Linked DNA regions of Homo sapiens: all the other regions are linked to region 1. The links are contacts of gene promoters, found by promoter capture Hi-C in blood cells and fetal thymus (Javierre and others, 2016). All regions are on one chromosome and are shown on one strand. Each heading gives the region's core, a stretch centred on a gene start or on the middle of the fragment in contact. The rest is flanking DNA. Distances are from core to core; before and after follow the strand shown.

Evidence for each region. The method cuts DNA at HindIII sites, captures the fragments that hold promoters and counts their contacts. A CHiCAGO score of 5 or more calls a contact.
Region 2: a fragment that was not itself captured here is called in contact with the fragment with the promoter of PHACTR4 in region 1 in 7 of 17 cell types (total CD4 T cells, naive CD8 T cells, activated CD4 T cells and 4 more); the score reaches 7.3 in total CD4 T cells.
Region 3: a fragment that was not itself captured here is called in contact with the fragment with the promoter of PHACTR4 in region 1 in 1 of 17 cell types (M1 macrophages); the score reaches 6.5 in M1 macrophages.
Region 4: a contact is called between a fragment that was not itself captured here and the fragment with the promoter of PHACTR4 in region 1, in 1 of 17 cell types (M1 macrophages). The highest score is 5.8, in M1 macrophages.

The regions. Positions count from the first base shown.
Region 1 is chr1:28,368,005-28,371,290 of GRCh38, reverse strand. It overlaps PHACTR4 (phosphatase and actin regulator 4), which reads right to left and starts at 1,551. Exons shown (of 14, transcript NM_001048183.3): 1 at 1,466-1,551. RefSeq lists a silencer at 1,178-1,397 and enhancers at 1,479-1,773, 1,424-2,379. The HindIII fragment of the contact is 7,867 bases long and covers 135-3,286 here.
Region 2 is chr1:28,866,014-28,869,299 of GRCh38, reverse strand. It overlaps OPRD1 (opioid receptor delta 1), which reads right to left. Exons shown (of 3, transcript NM_000911.4): 3 at 1-3,286. Among named protein-coding and RNA genes, the nearest start is that of EPB41, 47 kb to the left of the region's middle. The HindIII fragment of the contact is 6,215 bases long and covers 1-3,286 here.
Region 3 is chr1:28,027,302-28,030,587 of GRCh38, reverse strand. EYA3 (EYA transcriptional coactivator and phosphatase 3) reads left to right here. Exons shown (of 18, transcript NM_001990.4): 7 at 2,662-2,799. Among named protein-coding and RNA genes, the nearest start is that of EYA3, 60 kb to the left of the region's middle. The HindIII fragment of the contact is 1,340 bases long and covers 1,110-2,449 here.
Region 4 is chr1:28,065,164-28,068,449 of GRCh38, reverse strand. All of the region lies in intron 1 of EYA3 (EYA transcriptional coactivator and phosphatase 3), which reads left to right. Among named protein-coding and RNA genes, the nearest start is that of EYA3, 22 kb to the left of the region's middle. The HindIII fragment of the contact is 715 bases long and covers 1,123-1,837 here.

The DNA.
Region 1 (3,286 bases), core at 302-2,801:
AATTAAATTAAATAGTCGGGCACAGTGGCTCATGCCTCTAGTCCCAGGCATCTGGGAGCCTCTGGTGGAAGGATGGCTTAAGCCAAGAAGTTCGAGGCTACAGTGAACTAGGAGCTCTCCACTGTACTCAAGCTTCAGCAACCAAGCTAGACTCTTGTCTCTTAAATGAAACAAACAAACAAATTTTACCTTAAGCTGATTCTAGCAATGCAGTCTTCCAACAGGAGGACATACACAGTTACCATTATCTAGCCAAATTTGATCGAATCCACAATCCACGCAGTTCCGCGGTTTCCGGTAAGAATCTACCACACCTCATCCCCTAAACTGGCTTCATTTCTAAACGGGCTTCATTCCTTTTTTTTTTAAGATGGGGTCTTGCTGTGTTGCCCAGGCTGGTCGCGAACTTCTGGCCTCAAGCGATTCTCCTGCCTCAGCCTCCAGAATAGTTGGCATTACAGGCGCGCGCCACCACGCCCGAAATTCATTTCTTTAATTTGGCGAAAAAGTAAGTGACTTCTAGAAGCCACTGGGTTTCTGGTTCCTCTATAAAGCAAATTCTTCCACTGAAGGACTTTTTCCTTCCACTGTTTGTTTTAAAAAGAACAAGAAAAGGAAGAGGTTGGAAGGAGCGAGGAGCTGAGTGTCCGAATGAAGCACTGGAGGGTTTTTTTTTTTTGCAAGCAATCAGTGATGCCCTGTAAGTCACTCTCCTCCGAGATTTGGGAGGTGCGTGAACTGCCATTCTACCATTCACCACTGGTTCTTTGGTCCACCGATCACAGATGTGAGCTGCACAGACATCGCAGCAAATTCGATGCCTTCCCGGTTTCCCGGAGCCGGGGTGTAGAGGGTGGGAGAGAGGGGTCGCTTCTTTTCCTTAATCTCATCTCTCCACCAAGAAAAACGTCGGGAGTTTCGTGCCCTGAAGCCGCCCAGGCTGATGTTTGAAAGTTAAATAATAACCTCCAGGTTTTTACAGAAACTCCGCCTGGCTCCGAAGCCCCCGTTCTGCCCAGCAGGGGTGCAGAGGTCTGAGGCAGGACGGTTTTGAAAAATGTACTTTGACCCGATCCGGTTACTGTAACCGGATCCCCAGGGAGCAGTCCCTGTTGGGGACCGGGGGAACAGGCTCCCCCGTGGCGGAGACTCCATGCACGGACACAAAGGGGGAGCAACGCAGCCCAGACAAAAGGGCCCAGCCAAGTCTCGGGGGGCGGAGAGGGCGAGCCTGCGCGGGCCCTGCCTCAGGCGGAGAAGCCCGGGTTGGACCGTTGTGGGAGGGCCGAGGAGGGAGGCGGCGGCCCCGCCCCGCCCTGGCCCGAAGCGACGGCGACCCGGGCCGTTACCTTCTGCCCGGACCGGGACCCTCTCGCAGAGCCAAGAAAGGGGCCGCAGCCTGAGAGGAGGCCGCAGCCTGATACTGAGCGCGTCCTGCTCACTTTCCCTTGCTCGCTGAACTTACCCAGATCTCCGCCGCCGCCTCCTCAGCCTCCACAGCAGCCTCTCCCGGAAATCCTACCTGGCCCGTTGGCCGCCAGGCAGCAGCCGGAGCCCTTGGCCCCCGGGGAGGGGGAAAAAGGGAGCCGGCTGGACAGTGTAGGGTAGGACGTGCCGCCGCGGAGGCTTACGGGACTTGTAGTCCCCAGCAGGGGCCGGTTGCCCGGCAAGCTGAACAAAATGGCGGGAAGCGTGCGTCCTTTCTCTCCGGGCGGTCGTCCTCCTTACGACCTCTCTGGGCATGCGCTGGCCGCTCTGCGCACCTTGTGTGTAAAAGAACTTGGGCACCTTTCCTGGTACTATGGGAGGCAAAGGTCTTTGGGCTTGGGAGGACAGGGTTCAATACTGGGCTCCAGGCAGTACCCAAAAAGGGAACTGATACAAGAGTGTTGTTTGAGAAAACTGTATCCCTGACTGGCCAAATTTCAATCATAACCTCCCCAAAGGAAAAACTATTTATTGAGGACCAATTTGAAGTGCAAAAAACGTACAAGCAAGTTATCTACCCTCAGTGTTGTGCGTAAGAAACCCAGGAATCATTCTGGACACTTCCCTCAAGCCATTAAGTCCAGTCATTCTACATCCCCAGTATTTTAATTCATTTCGATATCCTTCACTACTATCACCTAGTGAAAGCCACCATCACTTCTCTCCAAGTCTCAGTAGTTTCAGGCCCTAGGCTATCACCCTCCGAAAACCTTCCTTGCTGCTGCCAGAGGACCCTTCTAAATGCAAACCCATTGTATCACACAACCTAAATTAGACCTACATGTAAAACTTGAAGCTACGGCACATCTAGAGGACATTCCAGGAGAAAAATCGATGTGACTTTTCAAATACACTATCCATAAAATTAAAAAAATTGGCCAGGCGCGGTGGCGCATGCCTGTAATCCCAGCTACTCAGGAGGCTGAGGCAGGAGAATCGCTTGAACCCAGGAGGCGGAGGTTGCAGTGAGCCGAGATCTTGCCATTGCAGTCCAGCCTGGGCGACAGAGCAAGACTCCGTCGCAAAACAAACAAACAAACAAACAAACAAATTATCCGGGGCCTAGTGCCAAGCTCCTGTAGTCCCAGCTACGTGGGAGGCTGAGGTGAGATGATCACTTGAGCCTGGGGGGTCGAGATCGCACCAGTGCACTCCAGCCTGGGCAGCAGAGCAAGACCCTGTCTCAATAGAAAAAGAAAAAAGAAGAAAAAAAAATTGGCCGGGTGCAGTGGCTCACACCTCTCATCCCAGCACTTTGGGAGGCTAAGGCGGGAGGATCCCTTGAGCCCTGGAGTTTGAGACCAGCCTGCCAGCCTGGGCAACAGAGTGAGGCCCCATCTCTACAAAAACAATTTTAAAAATTAGCTGGGCATGATGGAACGTGCCTGTAGTCCCAGGTACTCAGGAGGCTGAAATAGGAGGATTATTTGAGCTGGGGAGGTCCAGGCTGCAATGAGCTGTGATGGTGTCGCTACACTCCAGCCTGGACGACAGAGGGAGACCTTGTCTCAAAAAAATATTTAAAATATATTTATTGGCCTGGCACGGTGGCTCACGCCTGTAATCCCAGCACTTTGTGAGGTTGAGGCTGGTAGATCACCTGAGGTCAGGAGTTCGAGACCAGCCTCTCCAAAATGGTGAAACCACATCTCTACTAAAAATACAAAAATTGGCCGGGCACGGTGGCTCACACTTGTAATCCCAGCACTTTGGGAGGCTGAGGCGGGCGGGTCACGAGGTCAGGATATCGAGACCATCCTGGCTAACGCAATGAAACCCTGTCTCTACTAAAAATACA
Region 2 (3,286 bases), core at 1-2,500, 500 kb before region 1:
GCTGCCTGCAGCCTGAACCACACAGCCATCTGTCACCCAACTCTCAATATCTGCAAGCTCAGCGTGGGGCGGCCAGGTCCTGATTTGCTCCCGTCACTCCTCCCGGCTCCCAGAAATAAAGGAATAAATACATGATGAAAGAGAGGCATCTGTATGTGTTTTGTGTGTGAGTGCAGGGGCCAGGATCTGGGTGCCAGGGATGGGGGGTGGTCACTTCCTAGGGGCTTTGGGGCCGCTGGGGCCGGCTTCAGTCTGGATCTGCAGCAGGTGTTAGTGGGAGCTGGCAGCCAGTAGTCATGCCCTAGGTGAGGGATCTGCGGCTGACACAAAGAGAGGGCTGGCCTTTGGACAGAGACCCAGCAGGTGCCCAGCCTGGACTGTTGTTCTTCCAAGTCCTCTCAGGATGCTAGTGGGCCCTCTCCAACTTGAGGAGCATTTCTTTTTAATTTTTTTTTTTTTTCAGACAGAGTCTCGCTCTGTCGCCCAGGCTGGAGTACAGTGGCAAGATCTTGGCTCACTGTAACCTCTGCTTCCTGGGTTCAGGCGATTCTCCCGCCTCAGCCTCCTGAGTAGCTGGGATTACAGGTGCACGCCACCACGCCTGGCTAATTTTTGTGTTTTTAGTACAGACAGGGTTTCACCATGTTGGTCAGGCTGGTGTTGAACTCCTGACCTCATGATCCACCCGCCTTGGCCTCCCAAAGTGCTAGGATTACAGGCGTGAGCCACTGCACCCAGCCCTTGAGGAGCATTTCTAATTCCAAGCCCAGCAAGCCTCCTTAGAGCAGCTGCCTCTGGCACACGTGTAATTATCAGAGAATAAGCCTGTATCGAGGCCCCACTATGTGCCAGGCACTTTGGTGGCACTTTGCTTACCATATCTCTAGCTTTCAGAGAGTGCTCTCGTGGAGGTGAAGTGACTTGCCTAAGATCACACTGCTAGCACGTGGCCAAGAATTCGGCAAAGCTAGGACTCTTATTAAGTGAGGCTGATGATCGTATTAGAGATGGACCAATTCCCACATCTCAACTCTAGAAGGAAACTGAAGCTCAGAGAAGGCAAATCCCTTGTCTAGGTCACACAGCCAGTTAGCTTGAGAGCTGGGATTTGATCCAGGCTTGGGGGCTGCCTGGGCCATGTAAAAAACTAAATTGGAGAGCTCCCATCACCCTCCTGCCCTCCCTACTCGCATCCTCTCTTATGACACTTGACATTATCCATCACTCCCTCCTCCTGGGAACGCCCTCCTCCTCCAGTTTCCATGGTAGCACATTCTCTCCATCCTCCTCCTGCTTCTCTGGCAGCTTCTCACTCTCCATGGTGGCTCCTGGGCCAGGAAGCAAGGGGATCCCCAAGCTGGATCTCCAGTCTCTTCTCTCTCTCCATCACTAGCCCCGACAGCTCACCTACTCTTCCCTGTAGGTCTCTAGCTCTGACCCTGAACCCTGGCTCCACTTGTAAGCAGTGACTGCCACTTACCATGTACTTAGAGTTTACTTACGTTCTGGGCCTTATCCCTATACATACATTAAATCCTCACAACCACCCGTGAAGGAAGTCTACTCTACAGATGAGGAAACTGAGGCTCAGAGAGGGAAAACCAAGATCTGATTCCAGGCTTAACCACTACTTCTACTGCATCAAGACGAGGTATGAGAGCTGGGCACAGTGGCTCACACCTGTAAACCCAGTACTTTGGGAGGCCAAGGCAGGAGAATTGCTTGAGGACAGAAGTTCAAGACCAGTCTGGGCAACACAGAGACACTCTGGTCTCTATTGAAAAAAAAAAAAATTGGCCGGGCTTGGTGGCTCACGCCTGTAATCCCAGCACTTTGGGAAGCTGAGGCGGGCAGATCCCCTGAGGTCAGGAGTTCGAGACCAGTTTGGCCAAATGGTGAAACCCCGTCTCTACTAAAAATAAAAATATTAGCTGGGTTATGGTGGTGCACACCTGTAATCCCAGCTACTCAGGAGGCTGAGGCGGGAGGATGACTTGAACCCAGGAGGCGGAGGTTGCAATGAGCCGAGATGGTGCCACTGCACTCCAGCCTATGCGACAGAGGGAGACCCTGTCTCAGAAAAAAAAAAACCCAAACAAAATAAATGAATAAAAATAAAAATAAAATTGCTGGGCATGGTGTCACACACCCGTCGTCCCAGATTCTCAGGAGGCTGAGGTGGGAAGATCACTTGAGCCCAGGAGTTTGAGACTGCAGTGAGCTATGACTGCACCACTGCACTTGCACTCCAGACTGGGCAACAGAGCAAGACACTGGCTGAAAAAAAAAAAAAAAAGATGATGAAGAAGAAGAGATCTGAAACAGTAGGACATTTTGAAATCAGGGGCAAAAACTTCCCTCCCTCCTCCTGGAGGGAGATAAATGGAAATTTTGGGGGAAACAGACCTACTCTGCAGTTTTGAGAACCCTGTGACGATCTAGAATTACACTGTCAATTTAGAGCTTTAAAATGCACCATGCACAGTACATTCTGAAACGTGAAGATTTGGAGAGCTTCAGGAGGAACAAAAGTTCATGGAAAATTGCTCGTTTCCTTTAGATTTTTCCATTTGGTTTTAGGTCTTCAAAACCTCATTCTGGGGTTCCAGCTTCTAAGGCCTTTCTACTTCACTGATGCCTGGAATTAACTGGAAACATGGACCCTGGAATTCCAGGGACCCAAGTTCTGCCACTACGAACAGGCCCTGTGACTTAGGAGCAAGTAGCCTGACCTCTCTCAGCCTCAGCTCTCTTTGTCCTCAATGGGGATAACACTACTTCCTCACCAGGCTGTCCTGAGGATCAGGTGGGCTGATGCACACAAGACACCTGGCAGAGAGCCTGGCACACAGAAGAGCTTAGTTAAGCCCCATGCTCCAGCTGCACCCAACTTGTTGGGTTTGCCAAGCATTTAAACATCCCCATGCCTCCGCACACGCTATTTCCTCTTTTTGGTGGCCAACTCCTATTCATCCTTCAGGGTCCCCGACCCTTTTCCACCTCTTACAGAACTGCGACAAACATGTGTTTTAGTGAAAAGCTAGAAAAGGCACTTCCCTGTGACACCCTCCCTGGGGCTCCCTGTCACCGCACTCATCACACTGAGGTGCAATCATCTGTTGATGCTTTATCTCCCAACACTGGCTCAGGCTTTCTGAGGGCAGGGCCAAGGCTGACTCATTCCGAGTCCTGATGCCCAGAGTGCATGCTTGGCATGAAGTAGATTTCAATACAAGTTTGCACTACCTTAAACACACGTGGTCCGGACCCGGGCCCTGCTGACCTC
Region 3 (3,286 bases), core at 530-3,029, 340 kb after region 1:
AAGCCAGGCACGGTGACCCATACCTATAATCCCAGCACTTTGGGAGGTCAAGGCAGGAGGATCATTTAAGGCTAGGAGTTTGAAACCAGCCTAGGCAATATGACAAAACCTTGTCTCTGCAAAAATACAAAAAGTAGCCAGGCGTAGTGTGCCTGTGGTCCCAGCTATTCGGGGGTTTGAGGCAGGAGGATCCCTTGATCCCAGGAGGTTGAGGCTGCAGTGAGCTATGATTGCACCACTGCCCTCCAGCCTGGGCAACAGAGCAAGACCTTGTCTCAAAAAAATTAAGAAGTGATTATCATATCCCACTGTTGGTCTTTTTAAGACTTTCATATTTCTCTTTACTATTCCTAAATGTACTTATCAACAAATTGGACAAATCTGAGTTGCACTGAAGTATCTCAGTGCCCTGGTGAAGCAGAGGTTCTCATTCTCAAAGTATTGTATTTTTAATTGCATATATGTGTTCATTGGCTATAAATTCAATCACTCCTAGTTTATCAGAGTAGGAGCAAATAAATGAGATGAGTTAATGTTGAGTTTGAAGTCATGGCTAACCTTAGTATTGATATCATACATGGAATGTGTTTGGTTGATGAACCTTCTTAGACCTAATTATCAGCTTCAACTACACTAACCCAGTAACCATAGCTATTCAGAACACAGTGAACAACCAGGCATTAAGATTTTTGGGGCCTGGCATGGTGGCTTGTGCCTGTAATCCCAACACTTTGGGAGGCTGAGGTGGGTGGAACTCCTGAGGTCAGGAGTTCGAGACCAGCCTGACCAACATAGTGAAACCCCATCTTTACTAAAAATACAAAATTAGCCAGGCATGGTGGTACATACCTGTAATCCCAGCTACTAGGGAGGCTGAGGCAGGAGAGTCGCTTGAACCCGGGAGGAGGAGATTGCAATGAGCTGAGATCATCGTGCCACTGCACTCTAGCCTGGGCAACAAGAGCGAAACTCCATCTCAAAAAAAAAAAAAAAAGGATTTTCTTTTTAAAAGTAGGCTTTTGTGTAGCCAAAATTATCACCAAAACCATGCACTTAAGAGTGTTTCACTCATAAAGAATATCCTTGGACTCTCATGCAGATGCAAAGCTTTGTTTATGGTTGCCTAGTTTATTGCAAATTAAAAGGCAGATACTGCTAAGGAAGTCAAGAAGTGACAGACCACAGAGGAAAAACAGTGAAATTAGAACCTAAAAATCAGAACTATAATTAAGTTATATTTAGTACTAAACAATTGTCTTTACACATCACAGTAGCCTCTGCGGTATCTCTGTAATATATGTAGCACAGCACAGTTTTTATTTTTGAAACAGTAACTGAGAAAATCTAAAGGTATGTGTGCTATTTCCTCCTTGCTCAGAAGGCAGGAAGGGATATAAATATATTTTAGAAAGATTGTTACTCAGGAGCATTATGATAAAAAGAAAATAAAAATGAACAGCTATGATGTTTGTCAGTATGAGATAGATTTATATGTTCTGACTTGGAAAGATGAATCTTAGAGGTATTATGTGGAAAAGCAAATTATGTACACTATGTATAACACAGTCCTTGGCTGGCAGTGGCTCATGCCTGTAATCCCAACACTTTAAAAAGCCAAGGTGGAGGATTGCTTGAGGCCAGGAGTTCAAGACTGGCCTGGGCGACATAGCAAGACCCCACCTCTACAAAAAATTAGTCAAGTATGGTGGCACACACCCATAGTCTCAGCTACTCCTGTAGCTGAGGCATGAGGATTATTTGAGCCTAGGTGACAGAGGAAGACCCTGTCTCTTAACAACAACAACAACAACAAAAAATCACAATCCCATTTTTGTTAAAAAGAAGATTAGTGAATACATAGAAGAAATCTGGACTGAGTGTAGTGGCTCATGCCTATAATCCCAGCACTAAAGGAGGCTGGGGCAAAAGTATCGCTTGAGGCCTGGAGTTCAAGACCAGCCTGGGCAACAAAGCAAAACCCTATCTTATTTAAAAAAAAAAAAAAGAAGAAGAAGAAATCATCTGGGTGACTCTTCTGCAAACTGTTAATAGTGGTTAAGTCTGGATGATGGGATTATATATGACTGTATTTTTTTTCTAAATTATGTATTTCTGTAATGTTTTTAATTTATAAAAATAAGCAGGTATGTCTTTCCTAATCGGAAGAAACAAAAGTAACAAAATAACCAGCTTAAGAAGGCAGAGAAGTATTTAATATATTTTAGAAAAATTTGGTCCTTGTTTAATGGGTAAGTGAATTTTAAACTTATATGGAATGTCTCCTACCTTGACAGTTTGGATAAATTATTTATCACTGTACATGAACATCAGGCACTCTTTATAACAGATACTCCAGTTGGGTGTCAATAACTCTTTTTTTCTGAATCCTGGTCAATTTCCCCCAGTCATTGAAATGAATTTATATACATATTGGGATTTGTGGCAAGCTTTTTGTTTCTTTAGCCTCATCCCCTAATTCTTTGAAAGTGTTATTTGCTTGTGATATATTACAAGTGGGAGATTCAATAATTTTCTCTTACAAGCAAATTTATTTTTGTTTTAAGATTTAGATTTTAAACCTACTGGCTGATATTTGAAAGCATAACCATGCTCCTCAGTCCCAGTGTATTGTTTGTAATTGGTCCAATTTATCTGATTCAGGTGCATTGTGGCCAGGTATGAAACCTGAAAGTGGTTTAATTCAGACTCCATCTCCAAGTCAACACAGTGTTCTTACCTGCACTACAGGGTTAACCACAAGCCAGCCAAGCCCAGCACATTATTCTTATCCCATTCAAGGTAAATAGGCATGGTTGTGTGTGTGTTTTAAAATTATTATTATTGTTTCTTGTTTTTAATCTACCTGTATCTCCAAACAAACAAATTGGATAATACAGGAGCTCTGTCTTCTAAAGTAGAAAGGGGGTGATACTTGGATTTGTGCATGCTTTTTGTGTTAGGCAAACCACAGCTTAGGAGTGTGGTTTATAAGTAGTTTAGCCTTTGAATGTGAGCTGCTTAATAGAATTGAAGCCTTCCCTTTTGCATGTTGGTGTCCAGAAAACGCCTTGATTTTGTTCTAGTCTATTTTCAGTGGCATTTTGTCCTATAAATGAGCAGAAGACTCCATGGGTTGGAATTTTGCTGACCTGTATGAATTGTCATAGCAGTATGTGAGGTGTGTGCTGCTTTTCTGCTGTGTCTTTTGTCACACTTATACCCCATTTACTACTTGATGAGAGCATTTCTCTTGCTCAAGAAGTTCATTCTTATTTCTCTTTCAGGA
Region 4 (3,286 bases), core at 231-2,730, 300 kb after region 1:
ATGATGTTATATCATAAGATCAAAGTAATGTAACATAGGATAGAGATGTAATGAAAGAAAAGGAATAAGTAGCCTAAGGTAATAATATTAGGAATGTAATTTTTTTTTTTTTTTTGAGATGGGAGTCTTAACTCTTGTTGCCCAGGCTGGAGTGCGGTGGTGCGATCTTGGCTCACTGCAATCTCCACCTCCCGGGTTCAAGCGATTCTCCTGCCTCAGCCTCCCAAGTAGCTGGGATTACAGGTGCCTACCACCACGCTAATTTTTTTTATTTTTAGTAGAGACGGAGTTTCACCATGTAGGCCAGGCTGGTCTCGAACTCCTGACCTCAGGTGATCCACCTGCCTCAGCCTCCCAAAGTGCTGGGATTACAGGCATAAAGGAATGTAATTTTAAAAGGGAGGGTTTTATGCTCAATTCCACATAAAGAGGACAAAAAACTTCAGACAAGGGAGTTCAGAGTTTTGGATTCCACCACTGTTTCTGCTGCTTACAGGTTCATGAGGCAGTGCCTTCTCTTTTGTTTAATTTCCTCAACTTTAAAATAAGGATTACATTTAATGATCTGTGATACTCTATCCTTTGTAGCATCTTTTGTTATATATTTTCTTGCATTTCCAAGAGAGAATCGTGTCTGTCCAATAGAGTGAAACCAAATGTGAAGTCTCTTCCAATAGCAAATTCTTTAACTATTGGAAGTTCGTTGCTTTTGCTTAGAGCTGTAAAATGAACCAACCCTGAGTTTGTGTACAGTGTCTAAATAACTTCTTAGGAAAGAGATGACACAGCCAGAAAATCAAATGAATCTTTCTGCCTATACTGTTGTCACAAACAGGGTAAGATTTTTTAGGTAAGGCAAGATCACTGTGATTTGAAATGCTTTTCCCTCAAAACTGAAATTTTTTTTCTAATGGAAAAAGTTGGGGGCAAGAATGAAGAATTTGTGTCTAATTTTAGCTTAATGTCTTGAACATTTTTTATATAAGCATTTAAAAATATGTATTTAAACATTTTACTATACTTTTAAATGTAAGCTTTGTATCTGCTTTTGATTCTTATCAAATTATATGTAAGCTATTATTAAACTAACATAAAAACATGTATTCACCTTTTAAATAAGCTTGTATTGAAATAGTTTACAGTTACAGTGTAGTTAAACTTATTGTTCACATGTTGTTTGTTTCTCATTTTTCGTTTCTGTAGACAACAAACTTATACTATTTTTAAAAGTAGAGTTTGCTTCTTTCCCCCCTGTATGTAATTCTTGGGTGAGCACCTAAGAAAAATTATTCAGATTAGGCTGTGGCCAATCTTATGACCTCTTTTATACTTTATCCAGGAACAGTCTGAAGACACATATGATTTTACAGCTGTGCCTGACTGAATATGTCTTTATCTTCTCATAACCCAGATAACACTTGGTTTTATTGTTTAGATTTTTTTTGGTAGCTTAATATGTATGAAGTCGTATCTTAAGAATATTGCAATTTATATTTCTCCAATTAGTAGTGAGACAGTCTTTTTTCTCAAGTGCCGATTGAATCTCTGTGGTTTAAACTGCCTGTTTTTATCCTTTGACAGGTTTATGAGTTAGTCATTGTTTGCTCCCTAATAATAGATGATCGGGAAATGTTGAATTGGTTTGGTTTATATTATAAACATTGTTTTATTTATCATAATTCTTGCAGATATTGCCTGAATTTATAATATTTTAATCTTAGATTTGTTTTTTTCATTGCATGAAAGTTTATTTTACATAATTGGATTTGTCAAATTCTTGTTTATGCTTTCTTTGAATTGACCATAAATTCATCTCTTTTCCATAGTGAGATAAGCTTACTGTTCTGTTTTCTCCAAAGTTTTTTGAATGTTTAGTTTTTTAATATATTTATAATTACTTACAGCATATGTTGATGTGGATATTTTTTGCATGTTGGTATTCAGTTTTTCTGACAATGTTTTCTAAATACTGATTTTTTCTCCATTTATTTCATATTTTAAATACTTTATAGATTTGATCTTTTTTTGGCATTTCTAATCTCTTAGGGTTTTTTTTGTATTTTTTATTGTAAAATATACGTAAGATAAAATTAACTGTTTTAACCATTTTTAAGTAAGGTAGTACCCCCACCATCTGTAGTTTTGCTTTTGGCGGTTTTAGTTACCTTCTATCAACCTTGGTCTGAAAATATTAAATGGAAAATTTCACAGGCAAATAATTCATCAGTTTAAAATTGTGCACTGATCTGAGTAGTGTGATGAAGTCTCTCTCCATTTTGCTCTTTCCTGCCTGGGTCATGAATCATCCCTTTATCCAACATATTCATGTTGTAGACACTTCCCGCCTGTTACTCACTTAGGAGCCGTCTTGGTTATCAGATCATTTGTTGAGGTATCTGCAGTACTTGTGTGTTCGAGTAACTCTTTTTTGTTTTTTTTTTTTGAGACAGAGTTTCACTCTTGCCCAGGCTGGAGTGCAATGGCGTGATCTCAGCTCACTGCAACCTCCGCCTCCCGGGTCCTGGTTCAAGCAGTTCTCCTGCCTCAGCCTCTTGAGTATCTGGGATTACAGGCATGCGCCACCATGCCCAGCTAATTTTTGTATTTTTAGTAGAGATGGGGTTTCACCATGTTCGCCAGGCTGGCCTTGAACTCCTGACCTCATGATCCGCCCGCCTCGGCCTCCCAGAGTGCTGGGATTACAGGCATGAGCCACTGCACCCAGCCTGAGTAACTCTTATTTTACTTAATGGCCCTGAAGAGCAAGAGTAGTGTTGCTGGCAATACAGATACACCAAAGAGAAGTGCATTAAGTGAAAAGGTAAAAGTTCTCCACTAAATAAGGAAAGAAAAAAAATCATATGCTGAGATTGTTAAGATCTACGGTAGGGCTGGGTGTTGTGGCTCACACCTGTAATCCCAGCACTTTGGGAGGCCGAGGCGGGCGGATCATGATCCAGACTATCCTGGTCAACATGCTGAAACCCCGTCTCTACTAAAAATACAAAAATTAGCTGGGCGTGGTGGCACGCATCTGTAGTCCCAGCTACTCAGGAGGCTGAGGCAGGGGAATCGCTTGAACCCAGGAGGCGGAGGTTGCAGTGAGCTGAGATCTCACCACTGCACTCCAGCCTGGTGACAGGGAGAGACTCCATCTCAAAAAGAAAGAAAAAAAATCTATGGTAAGAACTAATCTTCTGTCCATGAACTTTTGAAGAAGGAAAAGAAATTCATGCTAGTTTTTCTGTCACACCTCAAACTCCAGGTTTTGGCCACACAGTGTGTG